Linked DNA regions of Homo sapiens: all the other regions are linked to region 1. Evidence: promoter capture Hi-C in 16 types of primary human blood cells and fetal thymus (Javierre and others, 2016). All regions are on one chromosome and are shown on one strand. The core of a region is centred on a gene start or on the middle of the fragment in contact, and the rest is flanking DNA. Distances in the headings are between cores, read along the strand shown. Region 1 holds the start of STC1 (stanniocalcin 1). Region 2 has its middle 46 kb from the start of ADAM28. Region 3 overlaps LOC107986931 (a long non-coding RNA gene).

Region 1 (2,644 bases), core at 108-2,607:
GCATCTCTATAGCAACTAAGTACAAAAGGAAGTGAAGCAAAAGCCCTCCTCTCGGCAGGGACCTGTGCTCTTCCAAGGGGATCATCATCTGCAGCATTTTGACACCTGTGATCCGGTCTTTGCTGACAGTTGGAGGACAGAGGGCAGTATTGGAAGGGGAACAAGTGGAGCCAGAGAAGTCAAGAGGCAGAGGTGTCAATGCAGGCTTCCTAATGATTCTTTTCCTTCAGAAGCCAAGATAATGCACAATTAACTGCTCCAAGAGTCAAGACGAAAGTGAGACCTTACCCTTGGAGAAACAGCTGCTACGTTTCACAATTTTTTTTTTCTAGGGGCTCTCTGGCTACGGGCTGCAGGGACGACTGAATGGAGCCCTACAGAGCCAGGAGGGAGACAGGCAGCAGGGTTGGGGGTGGGATGTATAGGGTTTTCTCTGAATCCGCCCTGGATTTGTCAGACTTGAGGGCTATGGTTCTGAAAATCAGTCTGAAGAGGGAGCTTTTCTGTGTATTCTCTTAGGTAGAGAAGTCAAGAAGTGAAGAGGTAGAGTCTTAAGAGGAAAGGAAGAGGGACAGCATCAAACAAGCCAGGTCTTACCTTAGATCAGCTTCTGGAAAGTATAGAGAGCGCTTTGAAGCATGCCAACATTCAAGCCTTTCCTCCCCTCTCACCCCTCCCCCTCCAAGAGGGTACGTGCCAGATTTCAGGCAATCAGGCTAGGCTTATGCAATGAAATACCCTCAGCAGAGCGTCCAGCTTCTTCGTTTAGTTGCATGCAATTTATTAAACAAAGGAGCTCCACTGCCTAAGGCTATTGGATTACACTGGCAGTTTATTGCCATCAGGCATGAAGCACATTTATTATCAAGATCAGCCGTCACAGACACAGTTGCAAAAGGGAGAGGCAAATGAGGACAGCTCTTTGGGGGAGAAACCGCTCTTGGGTTTGCTGCTTACCTGAGTTTTGAGCCGCCACTCGGGATTTCCTGGGGCTCACAGAGTCATTCTGCTCCGCCTCATGGGTTGCAGAAGCACTGATCACCAGCACCAGAAGCACTGCTGAGTTTTGGAGCATTCTCTGAGAAGTTTCCGCTAAGTTGTTGGGTTTTTTTTTTTTCCTGCCCCCCTTTCCTCTTTCCCTCTCCTGGCTTGAGTGAAGATGTGGATCTGGATACACTGAAAGCTTAGGTGAGGATTTGATGAGGATTTTTTTTTGTTGTTGTTGCTGGTGATGCTGCTGCTGCCACCGGTGCCTCCGCTGCTGCTGCTGCTGCCGCCGCTGCTGCTGCTGCTGCCACCGCCGCTGCTGCTGCTGCTGCTGCAGTCGCTGCTTCTTGCACCTCTGGCTTTTGCAAACTGGGGGCCCAAGAGCTGCACCCAGGGATTTTATAGCCGTTCTTATCGGTCCTCAGGATCAAGGACCAATCAGGTCCCTCAACTGGTCTGGTGAGCCAATAAGAGGGCATGCAATTCAGCTGGAGCTTTTTGACTTCTTAGAAATATTTTCCAGCAAATTAAAAGTACCTGCTGCCAATGTTTTATATGTGTGTGTGACTGTGTGTGCAGAGATGTGTGAAAAAGCTATTTTCGTGGAAGTAAGAGATAACTCTGTATTGATTGAACTAAAGAAAAATCCTATAGAAATCTCTCCAAGTTGCTTTTTGAAATCTAGCCATCTTTTTTTCTAATGAGCCACTTGGGGGAAATGGATAGCAGGGGTATGGTGGGGAAATGTGATCTCTTTAGATGAGAACTTAACCTGCTTACAGCAGTTTTACTCTAATTTTAACAGCACATTCTCGGTTCTGTTTTGTAGGCTACAAATGCAATAACTCCCTATCTTCTCTGTGTGTACATGTTCACATGTCTATGATGCATTTTTGTTTGTATGTGGACATCCTGGGTTCTCACTCACACATTTGAGCCCTTGAGGGGGAATTTATGTGAGTGGAAAAGCCTTGGGGGACTGAGATATGACAGCTCAGAGCTGAAGCCTTAGTCCCCCTACTGATCAACCTATGACTCTGGCTAAGTCTTTTTACCTTGCCCCACCTCGTTTTCCCATCTGTAAAACGCCAAAGTTGGACTCTGACATTCTGTATACCTCTAAAATAATGTGATTCTTCAATAATCAAATCAACTTTGACTTCATCTTTTCAGTCACCAGCAAAATTGCATAGTCCAGGAGTGTTAGTTACCCCAGGTACACATGTGCACACCTGCACATACCACACTCAACAGGGAGACATCATGAATGCCTGAAAATTAATAATCTGTGTTCAAGCCCAGCAACTTTATAACCACTTTGAAACAATAAGCTGGCCAAAGCAAGACTAAACCTGCTGAATGGAAACCAGTTCATTTCTTGGGGAGAGGGGTAGGAAAAAAGGGGGCAGAATGGAAAGAAGGGGTAGAGAAAGACCAGAATGTGTAGGAGAGAAGAATGATAAGCTCTAGACTTAATAGGAAAATTGCACTGCAATCACAAATCATGCCTGGTATAGAAACTTATATTTTCTTATAAGTGAGTTGTAGGCAATGCTGAGGTTTGTCCCCAACATGTGAAGGAGGTTAATGAGCCAGAAGAGGACTTCTTAGGGTAGGAAGGTGGTGAAGGTATTATACAATAAAACCTTTAATAATT
Region 2 (2,644 bases), core at 69-2,568, 390 kb after region 1:
CAATCCCACGCAGGAATAGAAGGCAGCAAGAAAAACCCATTTGACCCCGTATGATTTCATCTCTGACCCAACCCATCAGCACTCCTCCACTCCCTGGCCCCCCACCAAACTATCCTTAAAAAGCCCCCATCTCCAAATTTTCTGAGAGACTGATTTGAAAAATAAAACTCCAGTCTCCCATTCAGCTAGCTCTGTGTGAATTAAGCTTTTTCTCTACTGAAATTCCCCTGTCTTGATAAACCAGCTCTATCTGGGCAGCAAGCAAGAAGACCTCATTATGTGATTACATACTTCTTGTAATAGTTAGGGCTCATTTGGTCTCAAGTATCAGAAATTCCAGACCACTTTGACTTTCACATTAATGAAATCAGTTTCTAACTTAAAGTCCAAATATGGGACTACCTTCAGGAGAGACTCAACTCAGATCCAGACGATGTTACTCAGGACCTGTCCTCACTCTCTCTTTATCCTGCTTTCTGCAGCATTGACATCTCTCTCAATGTCCACCCCTCCATTCTGCAGCCCACTCCACTTACCCCAACACAGTGCTAAGCTCTCAATTCATGGTAGCAAAATGGCTGCAGTGGCTCCAGGTGTTAACTTCAGCCTACATTATTTAAGAGTACAGAGAGGTTCTCTTCTGGTAGATCCCAAGCGAATGCTGAGATGTATCCTTTCTCTGGCCTGAATTGGATATTACACAAACCTTACAGAACAGAAGGCAGGATCTGCTGGTTGGCTATAAGCCAACCAGGGGCCATTTCTGCAACTGGGAGGGGGTGGTCCTTCCCAAGCCTCCTGCTGGATAATGATGGCAGGGTGGATTCTCCACAATCTTTTGGCAGAAGAATAGCAAAATGAATTCTGGGGAACAATTGGCAAATTATACCTCCTTCTCTGTGCCACTGTGGCTCAACCTAATACTTTGTCAACTATTACTCCTCTCTGAATTAGGAGATTTTGAGTAAGATTTATAAGAATTGACTTCTGTAGTATCAAGACCTTTTATCAGGAATCACATCGGCTATGGCTCCCAGATGCAACAGTTGTTAACTAGGTGATTTAGTTGCATTAGAAATTCTCTGAGTCAAAATTTCTTCAACAACAAAAATAATGAGTCCTAAACTACTAAATTCTTGAGAGCCTGAGATAGCAGAGGTAAATTACCTAGCAGAGAAATAATTCTCTTTTCTCTCATGAGCTACCTAAATAGGCAGCTCAGGTAGATATGGCCCAACCAGACACTAGTCCCTCCCCTACCTGAATTCTAATAGGATTTGGTGCTAAAATGCATCTTCCAGAAAACACTCTGTGCAGCTCAGCCAGGTGTGCTCAATAACTTACTCAACCTGATATAGTTATATTAGGGTTATAGCTTTTTCCACAGGAACATCAGGTAACTGCAGGAATGAAACCACCGCCTACCATCTCTCCCCCAGACAGACCAGGAAGAAGATGGCTTTTTGCTAAGAATTCACTTGGGTGTTTACAAATGATCATTTCAATAGTTTCAATGTGCCTTTATGTAACTAAGAGAATGTACATTAAGATACTTACTGCCCTATATTGTGTTTATTTCTTGGTACCTTCAAGTCTGAGGGATTGGTTTTCTGAAAACGAGGAAATAAAACCAAAATAACTAAAACTTCTATTCATAGTAAAGTTTTAACTCTAGAGCAGTATTTATGAACTGGGGAGAATTCTCCTTAGGTGATATTTGGCAATGTCTGGAGTCATTTTTGGTGGTCACAAAAGCACAGGGGTAGTCATACTGACACCTAGTGGCTGGAGGCCAGAGGAGCTGCTGAATATTCTACCATGCACAGGGCGTCCCCTGACAACGAAGAATTATCTCTCAGTTCAAGAACGTCATGGTAGATTATGGGACAGAAAAACATACTTATTTTCATTCTTAGGGCTCTACATTCTATAATATGTGAGATTTGATATTTGTCCTTCTGGAAAGATGTGTGTGTGTGTGTTGGGGGGTGGGTTACTTGTGATTAGTTACTTGTTGGAGAATAAAGAGTATAAGTCACTGGAAAAGATTTTGATTTAAGTTTGAAATGTCACTGGCTTCCCTAAGCCCGTTTATAGAAGGAGTTAGAGATCCAGACCAATGTTTTCCTCCTGATTTGCCAAATATATGAAATTTTGTAAATTATACATGTGTATTTCCAAATATAATTCAGACTGGGAAAAATCCACTTCATGAGGGAGGAACGTGCATTGTGGGGGTGATGGTGAAGCCCAAAACGCAGAAAGAGAGTCACATGGCAGAATTTAGAAGGAAGGGTCAATTTCACAAAGAAGCACAAAGGTAAGGACTCTAGGCAGGGTGACCACACATGCCAAGTGCCCAGGAGAGTTCTAAGTTATACCCCTTGTCCAGATGGCTAATCATAGTGCCCTCTTTCATCCTAACCATGGAGCAAGCTTAGGCACTGGGGTGAATACGTATGGCGCCTACTTAGGGAAGTAGTCTATTTCTTGAGTTTCTTGCCATAAGAATAAAACTACAGTTTTAAGTACTTGCTCTCCTAGGTTGTTATTCTTATTTTACTTAAGCCTTCAATAAAATCTGATATACTTACAAATTTGTAAATGGAGAATAGAAAAACAAGCCTGGCTGTCTCACCTTCAT
Region 3 (2,644 bases), core at 48-2,547, 320 kb after region 1:
AAGCACTGTGATATTTTCTCTGGACAATTACAACAGTCTTCCTGATATTCCTATGAAAGGATCCTGTAAAATTTGTGTCCTTGCAACTCAGATACCCTACTCCCATGATGTCTGATGTCTATTCTCTAAGTGACAGTTTTTAAAAATATAAGTCAAATTATTTCACTTGACTGCCAAATCCCCCCAAAGGTTTCTCATTATACTTGCTAAAAGTTTCAAAGTCTTTACCATTTGTTCTCCCACTTTATCTCCCATCACTTTCTCCTTTGTTCTATCTTCTGGTATTAACGTTCATCCTTGGTTCTCTTAAACATATCTGTCATGTTCTTGCCTTAGGCATTTGCATAGGCTGTTCTCTTTGCCAGGAATGCTCTTTCCTACTTATTTCTGTGGCCTTCCCCAGGACGACCTTACCGAGAATAACCTTCCTCCTGTCCATTCCTTACCCTGTTTGCTTTGTCTTCATAGCATTTTAGACATCTGGTGTACCTTTGTTTCTTTCCTATCATCTCCTACTGGAATATAAGCACTGGAAGGTTGGGAACAGCCTCTTGGTTTTATTCACTATCTCTCGAAAGCCTGATACTTGGCAGGGCCTCTGAACATATCTTTGGACTTAATGGGCCAGTGCTTAAAATCAATATTTAGCAAAAGGCAAATATTACTTTCAGGGAAGAAACTTCATGATATGGGAATTAGAATACCAACAAATTAACCATTATTACAATTTTTAATTTGTAATTGAATAGTCAAATTTTATAAGTTTGGCATAGAAATGGAAGAATGTTAATTTCCCAGTACCTTAATCTACAAGCTTGCTTCTGTCACTGTACTGAATGTTTGCCTTACTAAATACATGCTTACTTTCAACTGAAACTGGTGAATGACCAAGATCATTTTTTACTCCTGCTGCTGACAGTGTCCAACTTGTAGCGATGCTATCACCTAATTATTACATTTTTCACCCATCTCCTGACATAACCCCTGAACTTGATTTGTATTATATAATGCAATTTCTTTGAAGCAATCTTATAAACTAAAGTTTGATATAGTATTTGAAAAAAGGATGTTTTCTGAGTATTTTCAGATTTCAGGCTTAGAATTACTGCCTTCACTTATATATTTTATTTCTAAGATTGTTTTGCATTCACTTGCTGTTTTACATAATCACTGCGGGGAAAATGCCCTTAAACTACAGACACAGAAATGCAGAAATGAAAGCAATGTAATTAGTTTTCAAGATAACAAAAATTGCCTTTGATTTATTGTCTGTAACTCCAATGTAGTTTCCATTTAATGAATATTAATTTTAGCATTTTACCTGAGTGGAATAATAGAAGGATGTTTGCAGCAGATAAAATATAAGAAATTGATAAAGTTTTGAAATTCTTCTGTTTGGTTACTTCTTCAGCAGTGCCCATCACACTCACTTCATTTTCTGTAAGAAACTATTGATGAAATAGGTCACGCTGGTTGGTTGTGGGTTGTCTGTAAATAAATTATTAAATATTTATTTTATTCAAGAAGTCTTTTTGACCTGTAATTGCAATTTTACCACATTTGAATATCTTGCATAGGTATTTGATAAGGCAGTACTCAAATCTCTTATATATTATGTAGTTTGTCTTCAGCTAGAAAAAAATGCAAAATTCCCAGTACATTCCTGATAAGGCAATGGATTTTTTTTTTTTTAACATTATCTTGTACTACAATTTCTTTCTGAATATACAATTAATTGGTGTTAACAAAACAATGTATGCTTTTGGCTTCTTAATTACTTAAAGCTTAGACCACATCTGTGCCATTTTCAACATCGGTTGCATAACATTGTTTTATTTTCCATTTTATATGAATTTCTTCAATGAAATTCACTGTGTTAGTTTATGTGGGACACAGAATTCTCTGAGCAAGCAAGCAAAGCAGACATATAGTGGAAATCATTCTTACTCCACTGAGCTGTCAAACCTTCAATATTTTCTTCTAGAGTCAGAACTATAAGACAAATATTATTAAAATACTTTTGTAATAGTTTTGAAATTTACTTAGTGAAAAATAATGGTGCTTGGGATACCTTTATTTGTTTCTAATTTTTCCTTCTTCAGACTATTTATTTATAGTGTTTATTGCTTTGAATCAAAGTAATTTAGTGTGAATGTTTTGTACACGATTTTGGAAATTTTTCTTTTCCTGGAAATGTGGCTTTTAATCCATCCTTATAGATATGAAAATTCATGAGTAGGATGCTTTTAAATAAGCTTTGCAGTATAGGTGGAATTATCTAAAAATTAGTAAGGATTGCTTCATATACTATTAGGAATGCGAGGATAGAATTACTCTATAAATTACTAGAATTATAAAGATTTTTTCCTTTTTACAATTTCTATTATATAGATTTTTAAATATTGTTGTTTTATATTAGGACTATGTTTTCCATACAGTTAGATAGTGCTGCATAATCTGTCTAGTATTCTCAAATTAACTATAAATATATTACTCTATTCAACTACTTGAAAGTTTTTAATATTTGTTTTTATATATAAAGTTAACAGCTTTCAGTCATTAATTATAGAAGCATTTTTCTTGCAATAATACATAGATATATTTATATTTCATTCAACTGATAGAATCTTAAAATATAGCATAT

The links. The method cuts DNA at HindIII sites, captures the fragments that hold promoters and counts their contacts. A CHiCAGO score of 5 or more calls a contact.
Region 2: a contact is called between a fragment that was not itself captured here and the fragment with the promoter of STC1 in region 1, in 1 of 17 cell types (total B cells). The highest score is 5.4, in total B cells.
Region 3: a contact is called between a fragment that was not itself captured here and the fragment with the promoter of STC1 in region 1, in 6 of 17 cell types (M2 macrophages, total B cells, naive B cells and 3 more). The highest score is 9.5, in M2 macrophages.

Annotation. Positions count from the first base shown.
Region 1 is chr8:23,853,449-23,856,092 of GRCh38, forward strand. STC1 (stanniocalcin 1) reads right to left here and starts at 1,358. Exons shown (of 4, transcript NM_003155.3): 1 at 958-1,358. The coding sequence starts at 1,075. The HindIII fragment of the contact is 2,191 bases long and covers 1,182-2,644 here.
Region 2 is chr8:24,247,227-24,249,870 of GRCh38, forward strand. No RefSeq gene overlaps it. Among named protein-coding and RNA genes, the nearest start is that of ADAM28, 46 kb to the right of the region's middle. The HindIII fragment of the contact is 2,231 bases long and covers 204-2,434 here.
Region 3 is chr8:24,175,699-24,178,342 of GRCh38, forward strand. All of the region lies in intron 2 of LOC107986931 (a long non-coding RNA gene), which reads left to right. Among named protein-coding and RNA genes, the nearest start is that of ADAM28, 120 kb to the right of the region's middle. The HindIII fragment of the contact is 970 bases long and covers 813-1,782 here.